Regions from separate parts of the Homo sapiens genome. Here region 1 is linked to region 2. Evidence: promoter capture Hi-C in 16 types of primary human blood cells and fetal thymus (Javierre and others, 2016). All regions are on one chromosome and are shown on one strand. Each heading gives the region's core, a stretch centred on a gene start or on the middle of the fragment in contact. The rest is flanking DNA. Distances are from core to core; before and after follow the strand shown. Region 1 holds the start of LOC107985811 (a long non-coding RNA gene). Region 2 holds the start of EFEMP1 (EGF containing fibulin extracellular matrix protein 1).

The links. Contacts are between HindIII fragments. The CHiCAGO score rates a contact against its expected background, and 5 or more counts as called.
Region 1: a fragment that was not itself captured here is called in contact with the fragment with the promoter of EFEMP1 in region 2 in 1 of 17 cell types (M1 macrophages); the score reaches 5.4 in M1 macrophages.

What each region holds. Positions count from the first base shown.
Region 1 is chr2:55,758,317-55,764,556 of GRCh38, forward strand. It overlaps LOC107985811 (a long non-coding RNA gene), which reads left to right and starts at 885. Exons shown (of 3, transcript XR_001739192.2): 1 at 885-1,023. The HindIII fragment of the contact is 1,963 bases long and covers 321-2,283 here.
Region 2 is chr2:55,921,934-55,928,773 of GRCh38, forward strand. EFEMP1 (EGF containing fibulin extracellular matrix protein 1) reads right to left here and starts at 1,849. Exons shown (of 12, transcript NM_001039348.3): 1 at 1,778-1,849; 2 at 966-1,006; 3 at 427-514. The coding sequence starts at 507. RefSeq lists an enhancer at 1,409-1,908. The HindIII fragment of the contact is 8,249 bases long and covers 1,038-6,840 here.

The DNA.
Region 1 (6,240 bases), core at 52-2,551, 160 kb before region 2:
TCTTGTCTCTTATTTCAAGCAGTGTGACTGGATTTGGTCTTCTACCTCACATAGGATGCTTACAGTCTTGATTTCCCTTAAGGATGTAAATTCCTGTCTGCCTTTGCCTACTGCATCCACCAATGTATTGCTTTGTGTTTCTGTTACAATTCTCTTCTGTTAGATCCTAAATTTCATAAGAGCAGGAACTTTATTCTGTTCAGCTCAAAATCCTTTGTATAGAACAATGTCTATCACATTGTTGCTAAATAAAAACTTGTTAAGTAAATGAATGAATGAATATTTGGTTTCTGACCCACAGAAATGTTTGTCTTTTTGTAAGCTTGGCTACAATTTTTTTTCAAATTTCTATTTTATCTTTCATTGCTATAAACTTATTTGGGGTGGGGAGTGGCCCAAAACATGAATTTATGACATTATCTCGATCTGAAGTTGTGGCTGAATATATATATTAATACAGTTAGCTTTTTGCCTAATAGGAATGGATCACATGTGCTGCATTATCAGTCTTTGTTATATCTCACACAATCTTCAAATGCTTAAAGTTTTAATAATTTGAGCTTCACAAACTCAAAGTACATCTTGATTTAATTTTTCTCCATACTCTAATGGTGAATAGCATTAGAATTTTCATATGATATTTAACTTGATGGAAGCCTTTCAAAAATAGTCATCAAACATAGCTTGTCTAATTAGCCTTTTTCTGTATGATTGTAATTGTGAAAGGGCAGAAAGTACTGCAGGATATATTATGCCCAGAGAATTAATTAGAAGCATACCCCAAAGAAGATTTGGCATATGTGTTAGTTTTCTCTTGCTGCCATAACAAATTGCCACCAATTTAACAGCTTAAAACAATATCCATTTGTTTTCTCACAGATCTGTAGAACAGAAGTCTGGCATGGCATGGCGTGGCATGGATTCTTTGCTCAGAATCTCACAAAGCCAAAATCAAGGTGTTGGTAGGGCTGCATTCCTTTTTGGCGGCTATTGGGAAGAATCTGTATCCAAGCTGTATCCAAGGTATTAATCATGCCTTTTTATTTCTGTATTTTTGATGCTTTGACAACTGGGACTTTACTGGCGCTCCCGTGCCTGTACCTTCTAGGGCTAGCCAATTCCTAGAGATAGTAAATGACTTGCCTTTGAGTGTACCTTTCATATGCAGATTAGCAAACTCAGAGCCCATACCCTAACCACCTCATTTATCAGACTCACACTCAGGACCTCTTTCCACTTGCACAATTATCCCAGGGCCCAGGTACCAGGCACGTGGGGAAAACCTCTATTCTCCAGAACCCAATGTAATTTTTCTAACTAGCCAGTTCTAAACCTTCATACTCTGCCTCACCCATTTCTTCCTATGGAAACCACAATTAGGATTCTTGTGTCCTGACCAACCCTGGTGCTTCCCTGTGTGGTGTGGCGTGCCCCCTCCTTTTGGCAGCTGTAACAAACTGTCTTTTTAATGACAACTGTCTTCTGATCTTTTGGCCCACCATACCTGAATAATAATAGGACTTACATTTTAAAGCACAAACTTATTCAGGTTGTTGTCAGAATTCAGTTCCTATACTCATGCCTCCTACATGGCCCCCTTCACCTTCGAGCCCACAACAGCACATTACATCTTTCTCATACTTTCAATTCCTTTGACTCCCTTTTCTATTGCATCTCTCTGACTTCCTCTCCTGCTTTTAAGGGTAAATGTGATTATTTGGGGTCCCCTTGGATAATCCAGAATAATTTCTCTATTTTAGGGTCAGGCGATTAGAAACCTTCATTAGATCATTAACATCCTTTTACCATGTAATGAACCATAACCATAGAAGTAATCCCAGGGGCAAAGATTAAAATGCATGCCAAAATTCTGCATACCACAACATTTTAGATGTTAAATAAGAAAAGAAAAGCTGGCTTCAAAATTTGGGAAGATATTATTAGAAGTTGTAATTTTTTTTATCTGTTCACATTACTGGCTGCAGGCTTTATTTATTTATTTATTTATTTATTTATTTATTTATTTATTTAAGAGACAGTGTCTCACTGCATTGCCCAGGCGAGTCTCGAACTCCTGGGCACAAGCAATACTCTGAGTAGCTGGGACTACATATGTGTGCCATTGTGGCTGGCTTACTGGCTACAGTCTTTGAGTTTCTGTGTTAAAAATTTCTATATTAAGATGGCTTTAGAATGGTATGATGAAATAATTACTCTTTGAGAAATGGACCAGTTAAGTATGAGTCTAATTTTGCTTCTATTACGCATAAGGGCAAGATATTAAGCTTGCTTGACACTTAGACTGTGTTCTCCTCTATTTGAAATTCCTAATATTTCTCCAAGGGGAAAGGTTAGGTGTTTTTGTGTTCTTTCATGCACAATTACCCCCACAGGACTCCTTAATACTCATTGTATTTTTCCATCATAGTAACTTTATATTGACTTCAACTGCTTATATGCTTATTGGGGAAAAAGTTCTGAGGCATAATTATACATTGATAGTTTAAAAAGTCTGACTTACATTGTCTAGTACTTGAACACAATTAAAAATACCTTATTTGCTGCAATTTATACAGGACCAAATAATGCAAATGTAAAACATCTCAAAGACAAACATTTTCCAAGATCATTTTGTCCCATTACCTGGGTGCCTTTTGAAATGTTTGCAAGTGTGTTCTTCTTGTCCTACAAGTGCTTAGTCCCTCACTTCCTCTAACCCTGTCTTCCTATGCCCTTTTCTCTTCCTTTGTCATTTAAAAATTTTTCTTATGTCTGCTCTTTGCTTTTTCCCTTCTCCATTTTATATTTATTTCTCTGTGTGCATGTCCTAATCTTGCTTTATGGATTTCCTCACTATGTGATTTCATCACTCACTTTGTTTATCCTAGTTTTTCAATTTCCTTGGATTGCTGTTTCCTTTTTCTTTTCATTGTGTTTTTTCCAACAAGCATTGTTGCCTCATATCATTTGCTCCTCAAACACAGTATTTTTTTCCAAAACATATCTATGCAATTTTTTGGCAAATAAACCTGTAGTACCCACTGAAGTCTACTGCTAGAAGAGGTAAGAGTAGTAATATTAGTGATAGTAATTGGCAATGTGAAGTTGAGTTTAGATATAGGGTCTTCCTCACCCTATTCCCAGTTACTCAAATTTTAGCTTTAGTTTTCCATCTTCAGAATTTTACGGATTGGAATAACATAATGAGGACAGATAACCATCCGAAGGTTAAGTGTTTTTCAATTTCTTGCCCAAACAGGAGGGCATGGCAGTCTTATGTGTTGGCTCAGGTTCAGAGGCATGCTTCTCATGTTTTTCATGCCTTTGTAAAAGAAGTTCAGAGTTGCTCCAGCCCTAACATCTCATATGCCAAGAGTTCTGAATTTATCCCTGTAGGGTATGCTGTGGTTAGTACACTATGTGCTTAATGAGTCTCTGTTTGGGGATAAAGCTTGACTCTGAGCTCCTTCAAATCTGAACTGTCATTATTTTCTCAATGTAAGTTACATTGACCGTAGCCTTGCCATTTGCTTGGTATGCTGCTCTGCTGCTGCTTTAACTCATGAAAGATGGGTGAAGTTTTCATTTGGCCATGGTAGTTTCAACAAAACCAGAGTTGGCTTTTGCAAAATCATTTTGCTTTTGAGGCCTGGCCTTTGAAAACCATTAGGATCTTTTGCAAGGCTTTTAAGGAAAATATTTTGTGAGAGTCAAGTCCAGTTTTGTTTTGTTTTTAAACTGCCACTATCAGGGGAAATCTGGGCAGAGGAATCAATTCCCCCTGTTTTCAGAGTTTAAACAATGCTGTACAAGATGCAAATGGGTAGCACTTTGCCTGTTAGGATCTTTCCACTACTTTTTCATCTGCTACAATTATTAAACAAACAAACAAACAAAAACCCAACAGCAAGTGATTCAGGTCTCTTTTTTTTCTTTGTTTCTTGGTTATTCAGGGCTTCTCTTCCCTGATATGACACAAGGAGCCTCCCATAAATGCCTGGCCTCAGAGATCCTCTTGCCTCGGTCCTCAATGAGTTATAGAGTATCATACTGTCTATGCTAGGCTTAAGATCAGGATCGCTAACTTGATGTAGAGTTTATATTCAGATTTCCTTTCTCTCTTTCTTCTTTCTTTCTTTCTTTCTTTCTTTCTTTCTTTCTTTCTTTCTCTCTCTCTCTTTCTTTCTTTTCTTTCTTTCTCTTTCTCTCTCTCTCTCTCTCCCCTTCCTTCCTTCCTTTCTCTGTCTCTCTCTCTGTCTCTGTCTCTCTCTCTCTCTCCCTTTCACCCTTTCTTCCTTTCTTCCTTTCTTCTCACTCTGTCACCCAGGCTGGAGTGCAGTAGCATGATCACAGTTCACTACCGCCTTGACCTCCTGGGTTCAATTGATCCACCTGCCTCACCCCCTGAGTAGCTTGGACTACAGGCATGCAGCACTACGCCTGGCTAATTTTTATATATTTTTTGTAGAATAGGGTTACGCCATGTTGCCCAGGCTGGTCTTAAACTCCTGGGGTCAAGCAACCTGCCTGCCTCAGCCTCCCAAAGTGCAGGGATTACAGGCATAAGCCACCATGCCCAGCCTCCCTTCATACTCTAAAACTTACAATACATTGAGGTACTAAAGATTTACACACACACACACATCTTCCACAGTGTGAAAAGAAAAAAAAATGTAACAGGAAAGATTTAAGCCCAAAATAAAGTAGAATTTATTTTCTTTCTTTTTCTTTAATTCCTTCCTTCTTTCCTTTTTTTAAAGACAGGTCTCTCTCTGTTACCCAGGCTCTAGTGCTATGGCATGGTCACAGCTCACTGACCTCCTGGGCTCAAGGGATCCTGTCATCTCAGCCTCCTGAGTAGCTGGGACTATAGGCACGTGCCACTATGCCTGGCTAGTTTTTAAAATTTTTTTTGTAGAGATGGAGTCGGGGTTGGGGGTGGTCTCACTATATTGCCTAAGCTGGTCTTGAATTCCTGGCCTCAGAGATCCTCTTGCCTTGGTCCTCAAAGTGTTGGGATTGGAGGCGTGAACCATCCCACCTGGCCTAAAGTCGAATTTCTTGAATGCTGAGATTATTAAGGGATTTAGTATTGATAGAGAATCCACTATCTACCTACACTTACATATATCATCTTATTTAATTCTGCTAACTACCATGTGAGGGAGGTATCACATTCCTCATTTTATAAATTAAATGAGAACTGAGAGAATTAGAAGTATTTAAGGTAACTGGGAGTGAGGAACACTAGGTCTGTCCTTCTCGAAGGTTTATGTTCTTTTCAGCACAGTGGCTAGAATAGATTTTGAGTTTTTCCCCCCTAAAAGCCTTTAAATTCTTATTTGCAGTAGTTCAGGATCATTTAATGGAAGTCTGGAGGTGAAAATAATGGAAAGATAGCTCTTGGAGGTGCCAGGAGATCTGGGTTGTAGAGCTGGTACTAGTTTCCACATGTGAAAGTAGAGACACGGCTGCTTATTTTGCCTGGATCTTGTCAGTTGCAAAGCAATCTTTACAGGCAAGGTCCTATTGAGTAAGAAAATGTCAGCCATGTTTTTTTTTTTTTTTATGGAGTAAACAGAACACAGTTTGAGGTTTTCCTCCTACTACTCACTTTACTAGATTCTCTACCTCTGGTGAAAAGTGATTATGATTAAAATTCACAAACTCATGAATCAAGAAGACATGAATAGTCAGCATAACTCATGCCTGTTGCCTTGCTTAGGATTACTAAATCATTAGAACAGGGAGAGAATGACTCCTGTCTTGTGGCAAAAAGTTAAAAACATGGTAACTTTGGAATTTAAGCCAGAATCATAGGTCTTGTTGTCAGGTAGGCCCTCATGAAGTAATCCGCCTCAATCCCACTTTTGGCCAGGCAAGGTATAAATTCCTACTTTATGGATAAAATAACAGAGGCTAAGAGGTTACACTTGGTAAGTTGCAGAAGAGTGCCATGAGAGGGGAGTTGGGAGTAGAATCGTCTCCAAGAGCAATCTTCTTCCTACTGCAAAACACCAAAGCAAGTCCTGGTGTCAGAGATGTCTCTTTTCTAACGGATCACTTAGTTTTGCATTCCCCAACCAGGGAATGATCTGTCTCCTCACCTTCTAAGTCAACCACTGAGGCTAATCTACAAATGATAACTAAAAATCTTTGAAATGAAAGGAACTTCCATAGTAGTGCTCTCTAACAGAACTTAAAACACCTGCATTGCATATGCTGGCCCTAGATCACCAC
Region 2 (6,840 bases), core at 599-3,098:
AAGAAGGCCATGTGTCTTTATGGTGTTTAACGTTCTTACTTGACTTGAGTCTTATTCTGCACGTATTGGTTTTATCTGCATGTGGTAGGAGTCCAGGTTTTCCAGTTCCTTACACCCATTAATTTGTTGAATGTTTTGGAAACATGTAACTTTCTTTGGTTTTAGTTTTTGAACGGATCCCATTTTTAGCCCTGCACAAATGATTACATGTTGGTTCCTATCTTAGGTGGTGAGCCCAATGAACTTTTGAAAGGATCAAGGGGGCAATTTACAACGAATCTTAGATATGAAGCATGAATGAAGTGTTGTTTAATTTATCACCCTCAGCAGAGTATAGCCCAAATACACTGGCAGGGGTGTGTAAAGTCTTTTTTTGTCACAGAATCCCGCTGAACCGTACTTATTTCAAATTCCATCACCCCTTACCGTGTACGTGATGGTTTCTTCGGTGTCCTGTGACTTGACCAGCGCCAGAGTCAGCATAGTTAGGAAAAGGGCTTTCAACATTGTGAATCTCAAAGAAAATACAGGACAAACTAATGTTTAGTATCTGCTGCGGGGAAAGTAACAAAACTTTAGCAGTGAGCACAAGCGAGGAAAGGAGGGTGGGAGAGGCTGAGGCTCCACCATACTCAACTTCCAATCTGCTTTCTCATCTCCCCTCCCCCTCCTGAACCTTCTCGGTAGCCAACGAACGAGGCAGCAAAGACGTAAAAACTGCTGTAGAATTGCATTTCACGTTACTCCATCCTGCTACGCTGTTTACATACAAAAGACATTCAGCGTGCATTTTATACTGCACCTACAAAGCAGGCTGCAGAAAGAGGGGGTCGAAAGGAAAAAACAGTAATCCATTTCAAAGGGGACGGTGCATTTCCTGCCCCCCAGTCCCACACCCCGGGGGATGGAGGTGGGGCTGCAAAACTCTGTTCTCTAGAACGTTAAGGCTTTCCCAGTATACTCACCTTGAGCTAGCAGAGTTCCTTGCACAGCACAGCAAAAATACCTGTGAGCCAATATGAATTGCCTTGGCCTCAAGCTTTTTATTTTTTAAACAAAATAACAAAACAAAACTCGGAGAGCAATCTTCCAGTTCTAGTAGAATACTAGACCTTCTCACATGTCTCAGAGCTTCTCACATCCCCCAGCACAAACTCTCAAAGTGGCATTTCCACGCCTTTCTCTGCGCACAGCTTTGTTTAAAAGTCCCAGGTTGTGTGGAGGGGCAGCCCAAAGCGACTGATTCTCTTTTGTCTTATCAGTCTGGGTCCCCGACACGCTACCTTCGGTTTCAGGCTGCCTAGGACCGGAACCAGGGATCGCACCGCAGCCCAAGGTACCAGTTTCGGGCGGGCGGCCTGGCCCGGCAGGGAGATGAGGTCCCCTTTCTTAACAGCAAGCTAACGCGGCGGTCCCCTGGAGCTGCTCAGCGTCCCAGCTTCTAACCAGCTCCTATGGAATCCAGGTGCGGCTTAAATCTCGCACACTGGTCCCCTAAACTTTCAAAACCACGTTTATGGGCAAAGCCCTGCCGGCTGGTTGTCGGCGCGCACACACATGCCCATCCCAACAGATGTCACCCGAGTACTCGCACTTGCTGACAGATCGCATTCCGAGGCTGCACACCTCCACCTCCCTCTCTGCCCGAGACACCCTGCACAGTCCAGGGCAGTTCTCGGGTACTCAACACCCCTCAGCTCACCCCACCTCACTCTCCCGCGCGCGGCCCAGTGAGTACTGGGCTCGCTCGGGGCGACCCCCCGTTGGGGGCTCCTACCTGTGCGGCCGCGCTGCGCTCCGGGCCCGGGCAGCGAGGGGAGTGCGCAGGGGAGGGCAGCCCCGTGGGTCTGATCTGGCGAAGTCCGGCAGCGGCCGCGGCGGCAGGAGGAGGAGGAGAAAGGGAGGGAAAGGGGGAGGGCGAAGGGGGGCGGAGGAGAGAGCTGAGGGAGGCGCGAGCGCTGAGCCCAGCGTTGCGAGCCCGGCGGTAGAGCGCGCAGCGCAGCGAGGTCCGCGCCCCCTGCTCCAGGGGCCCTCTTTGCCGCCCCCGCTTGCCCTCCCTTGCCAGCTCCTCGTTTCCCAGACTCGCGGGGACCCCACGCCAGAGAGGACACGTTGACATGTGATGTCCTGGATGCGCTTCAGCCTTGGGGATGCTCCCACTCTCTAGTGCGTTTTCTTCTTCTCTGAGGAGGGGAACACAGCATCTCCCTCAGAGACCAGAGGGTTCTAGAAACTGCTGTTACTTTTTTTCCCAATAAGTGAATGCTAGGAGAGTAAATTAACCCCCATTCATAGAACTGTTTCCTTTACCTTTTCTTTCGGATTTTTTTTTTTTTTTGAGGAGGTGTCTGCTTCCACAAATGGAGAAAAATGAGAATTCATCCATTCAACAAATATTTGCCACCTACTGTGTGCTTAGTGTTGGGAATAGGCCAAATAGAACTTGCACTAACAAAATTGTGAGGTGGGGTTTGTTTTATGGTCTCTCAAACCTCCCTTTATGATAACAAGTGTTGGCAAGAATGGAGAAAAGGGAATGCTTGTATGCTGTTGGTGGAATGTAAATTAGTACAAACATGATGGAAAATTGTATGGAGGTTTCTCAAAAAACTGAAAGTAGAATTATCATATGATCCAGCAATCTCATTTCTGGGTATTTACTGGGAAGATTTGAAATCAGTGTGTTGAAGAGACGTCTGTACTTTCATGTTTATTGCAGCACTATTCACAATTGCCAAGATATGGAATCAACCTAAGTGTCCATCAAGGGATAAATGGATAAAGAAAATGTGGCATATATGTGTGTGTGTATACAAATATAATATATATTATATATATAAACACATATATATATAAAATATGTACACACATATATTTTAGATATATATGCGTTTTTAAGGCTAAATAGTATTCCATTGTGTGTGTGTGTGTGCGCGCGTGCATGTGTATATGAGCCCATTCTTCTGAAAAGTATCTTTCAAGCCAGGCAAAAATGGCAGTTCACTTGAATAATTTGTATGGTAAATAGAGAAGACTTACAGTTTGTTTTAGATATTTACTCCTAGACATTTAATGTTAGTGTACTATCAAGTAAGCCTAGACTGAGTTTAGCTTCACCACTTGGCTATGTAGCCCTAAGCAAGTTAGACACTCTCTTTGATCTTCAGTTCTACCATTAATAGAAGGAAGATGATGCCACTTACCTTACACATTGCTGCAAGGATCAAAGGAGATCGTGTCTCCACAGCGGGATACTCAAAAATAGTTATTATCTTGTCCTTTAACCATGAATTATTAGGCATACAAAATTTAAAAGAGAATAGTATTCCATTTTATGTGTCTGTGTGTATGTGTGGAATACTATTTAGCCTTAAAAAAGAAATTCTGTCATTTGTGACACCATGGATGGAAGTGGAAAACATTATGCACAGTGAAATAAGCCAAATGTAGAAACACAAATACCACATGTTCTCAAGTATCTGAAAGTAACTTAAAACAATTGAACTCATAGAAGCAGAGAGTAGAATGGTGGTTACCAGAGGCTAGGGTTGCAGGGAATGGAGAGATAACAGTCAAAGAGTGTAAGCCTCAATTAGATAGGATGAATAAGGGTTGGGTGCAGTGGCTCATGCCTGTAATCCCAGCACTTTGGGCAGCCAAGGTGGGCAGATCACCTGAGGTCAGGAGTTCAAGACCAGCCTGGCCAACATGGAGAAACCCCATCTCTACTAAAAATACAAAAATTAGACACGTGCCTGTAATCCCAGCTACTCGGGAGGCTGAGGCAGGATGATCGCTTGAACCCCGGAAGGCAGAGGTTGCAGTGAGCTGAGATCATCCCTCTGAGTGACAGAGTGAGACTCCATCTAAAAAAAAAAGAGAGGAAAAGTTTGATTTTTTTAAAGTTCAATTGCACGGTGTCGTGAATAAAGCTGATAATTGAGTACTGTATATTTCATTATCACTAAGAGAGTAAATTTCAAATGTTCTCATCACAAAAAATGTCAAATATTTGAGGTGATGGATATATTAATTAGCTTGGTTTAATTATTACACATTGTATTAAAAAATCATAACACCTTGTACCCTATTAATATATACAACTATAATTTGTCAATATATAATAAAAAGTCTCCCTTTTTATGGGTTTCTTTTTTCATCTATAGCTTCTCTTTTCTTCACTTATTGACTTAGTGAAATCTCCAATACTGCTCATTCAAAGTTGGGCATTTCACTTTCACCTTTCATAGTGGAATTTCAGGAATCTGGAGAGAAAAATCTTTTTTTCTGTTTTTATCAAATCATACCACACAAATTGCAGTTACCTCTGAAGGCTCCAACTCTAAAGTCATACTAATAGCTTGCTTCCAAGGCAGCTGTCTTCTAAGAAGCAAATGGCCAAATACAATTTCATGAATGAGAAAACTTACAAACTGAAGGGGTTAAAACTTTGACTCTGTCCTTGAGCAGGAGGCAGAGCTCAGGAGGAGAGGAAAAGCTCCTTTCCTTTCCTGCTGACTCAAGGTGGGAGGGTGGTAGCGACTGCAGGAGAGGGAGGTTATCAGGTGGAAGCTGCTCTCTTTATCTCTGGGGTATCCAGTGTGGGTTACCTAGACATTGCCAGTTTGGTAGCAAGCCACACAGTATTGGACAAGATCAGAGGGGAGGTGTACAACCCTCCCTAAACCTTACTTGAGTATACAGAGTTTTGGTAATTGTATCAAATATTTTTACTATCAAAATTCTAGTGTTTTCCCCCAAGTCATTAATGACCTCCAGATTTTTTTTAAATGGATCTTTACTTTTTGTACAGTAAGAAGATCTGTGCACATGGTTTTTCCTGTTTCTCTTAAACTCTTTCTACCTGTTCCCAGCCACTTTTCCAGAAAAATGGGGTGAAAACTCTCAAATTTATATCTCCAGCCTGGAACTGTTCCTATATATCCAGCTGCCAACTTGCTATCTTCATTTGGACATCTAATGGATGTTTCAAACTGAACACAACTGCTGTTATCATCCCCCAACCTACTCCACCCACCTTCACCATCTCAGTTAAAGCAGTTTCATCTTTCTATTTGCTCAGATTCAGGACCATGGAGTCATCCTTGATTTCTCTTTTTCTGAGATATCCTGCATTCTATCCTTCAGGAAATTCTGTTGGCTTCACCTTCATGATATATCCAGAATGGAACCACTTCTCATCACCTCTTTTGCAACCACTCTGGTCTAAGCCACCACCATTTTCCAACTGTATTATTGCAACATCCTCCTAATTGGTCTCCTTGTTTACAACCTTGTTCTCCTGCAGCCTTTTTGCAGTGGGAGTTCATATGAATGAAATCATAGAGTAAATACTCTTTCGGGTCTGACTTCCTTCACTCAGCATGTTGCTTGAGATGCATCCTTGTTATTAGGTGTATGAGAAACACATTCCTTTTTATTGCTGAGTAGTATTCCATTGTATGTATATACCCTGATTTGTTTGTTTACATCTTAATAGATACTTGGATTGTTTATGAATAAATCTGTTACGGACATTCACTTCTAAGTCTTTGCTGGGATATGTTTTCTTTTAGATAAACGCTTAGGAGTGAAATTGCTGTCATATGGTAGGGGTATGTTTAACAGTATAAGAAAGTGTCAAACTGTTTTATAAAGTGAGTGTGTTATTTTATGTTCTTACCAGCAATATGTGAGATTCAATTTGCCTGAAATCCTTGCCAACTTCTGGTATTGTCAGTAATTTACAATGTTAGCCATTCTGGTGGGTGTGTAAGTGGTATTTCACTGTGGTTTTATTTTACATTTCTCTGATGTCCAGTGATGTTGAATTTTGCTTTTCGTATGCTTATTGTCCATCAATATATTTTATTTCAAATTTGTGTTCATTTCTTTATTTTTTGGTCTTATTAGTTGTAAGAGTTTTTAAAAATAGTCTTCCTGCAAGTCCTCTTCAGATTTACATTTTTCGAACATTCTTTCTAGTCTTTGTCTTGTCTTTCCAATTTGTTAATGCTGTCTCTTGAGAGCAAACATTTTAAATTTTGATAATTTTTTTTTTTTTTTTTTGAAATGGAGTCTCCCTCTGTCACCCAGGCTGGAGTGCAGTGGCACTATCTTGGCTCAGTGCAACCTCCGCCTCCTGGGCTCAAGCAATTCTTCTGCCTCAGCCTCCTGAGTAGCTGGGAATACAGGCGCACACCACCACACCTGGCTAATTTTTGTATTTTTAGTGGAGACAGGATTTCACCATGTTGGGCAGGATGGTCTCGATCTCCTGACCTTGTGATCCACCTGCCTCGGCATCCCAAAGTGCTGGGATTACAGGCGGGAGCCACTGCACCCTGCTGGATGATTTATTTAATGGAGTCCAACTTTATGGATTCAAACTGGATGCATGGATTTAGCAGAATGCAAGTGGAAATTGCAGTAAATTCACCTTCCTAAAATTGCTCTGAGCTCAGAGGAATCTGAGATTTTAAAGATTTGGGCTGGGCACGGTGGTTCACACTTGTAATCCCAGCATTTTGGGAGGCTGAGGCAGGTGATTCACTTAAGGCCAGGAGTTCAAAACCAGCCTGGTCAACACAGCAAAACCCCTTCTCTACTAAAAATACAAAAATTAGCTGGGCATGGTGGTGCGCGCCTGTAATTCCAGCTACTCAGGAGGTTGCAGTGAGCCAAGATCACGCCACTGCACTCCAGCCTGGGTGACGGAGCAAGACTGTTTCAAAAAAAAAAAAGGAAGATTTGAAGATGTATGTGGTGACAAACTCATAATTTTAGAAGAGATTCACAGATGTTGATGATCACACACTGAGCACTATGATCTATGTCTCT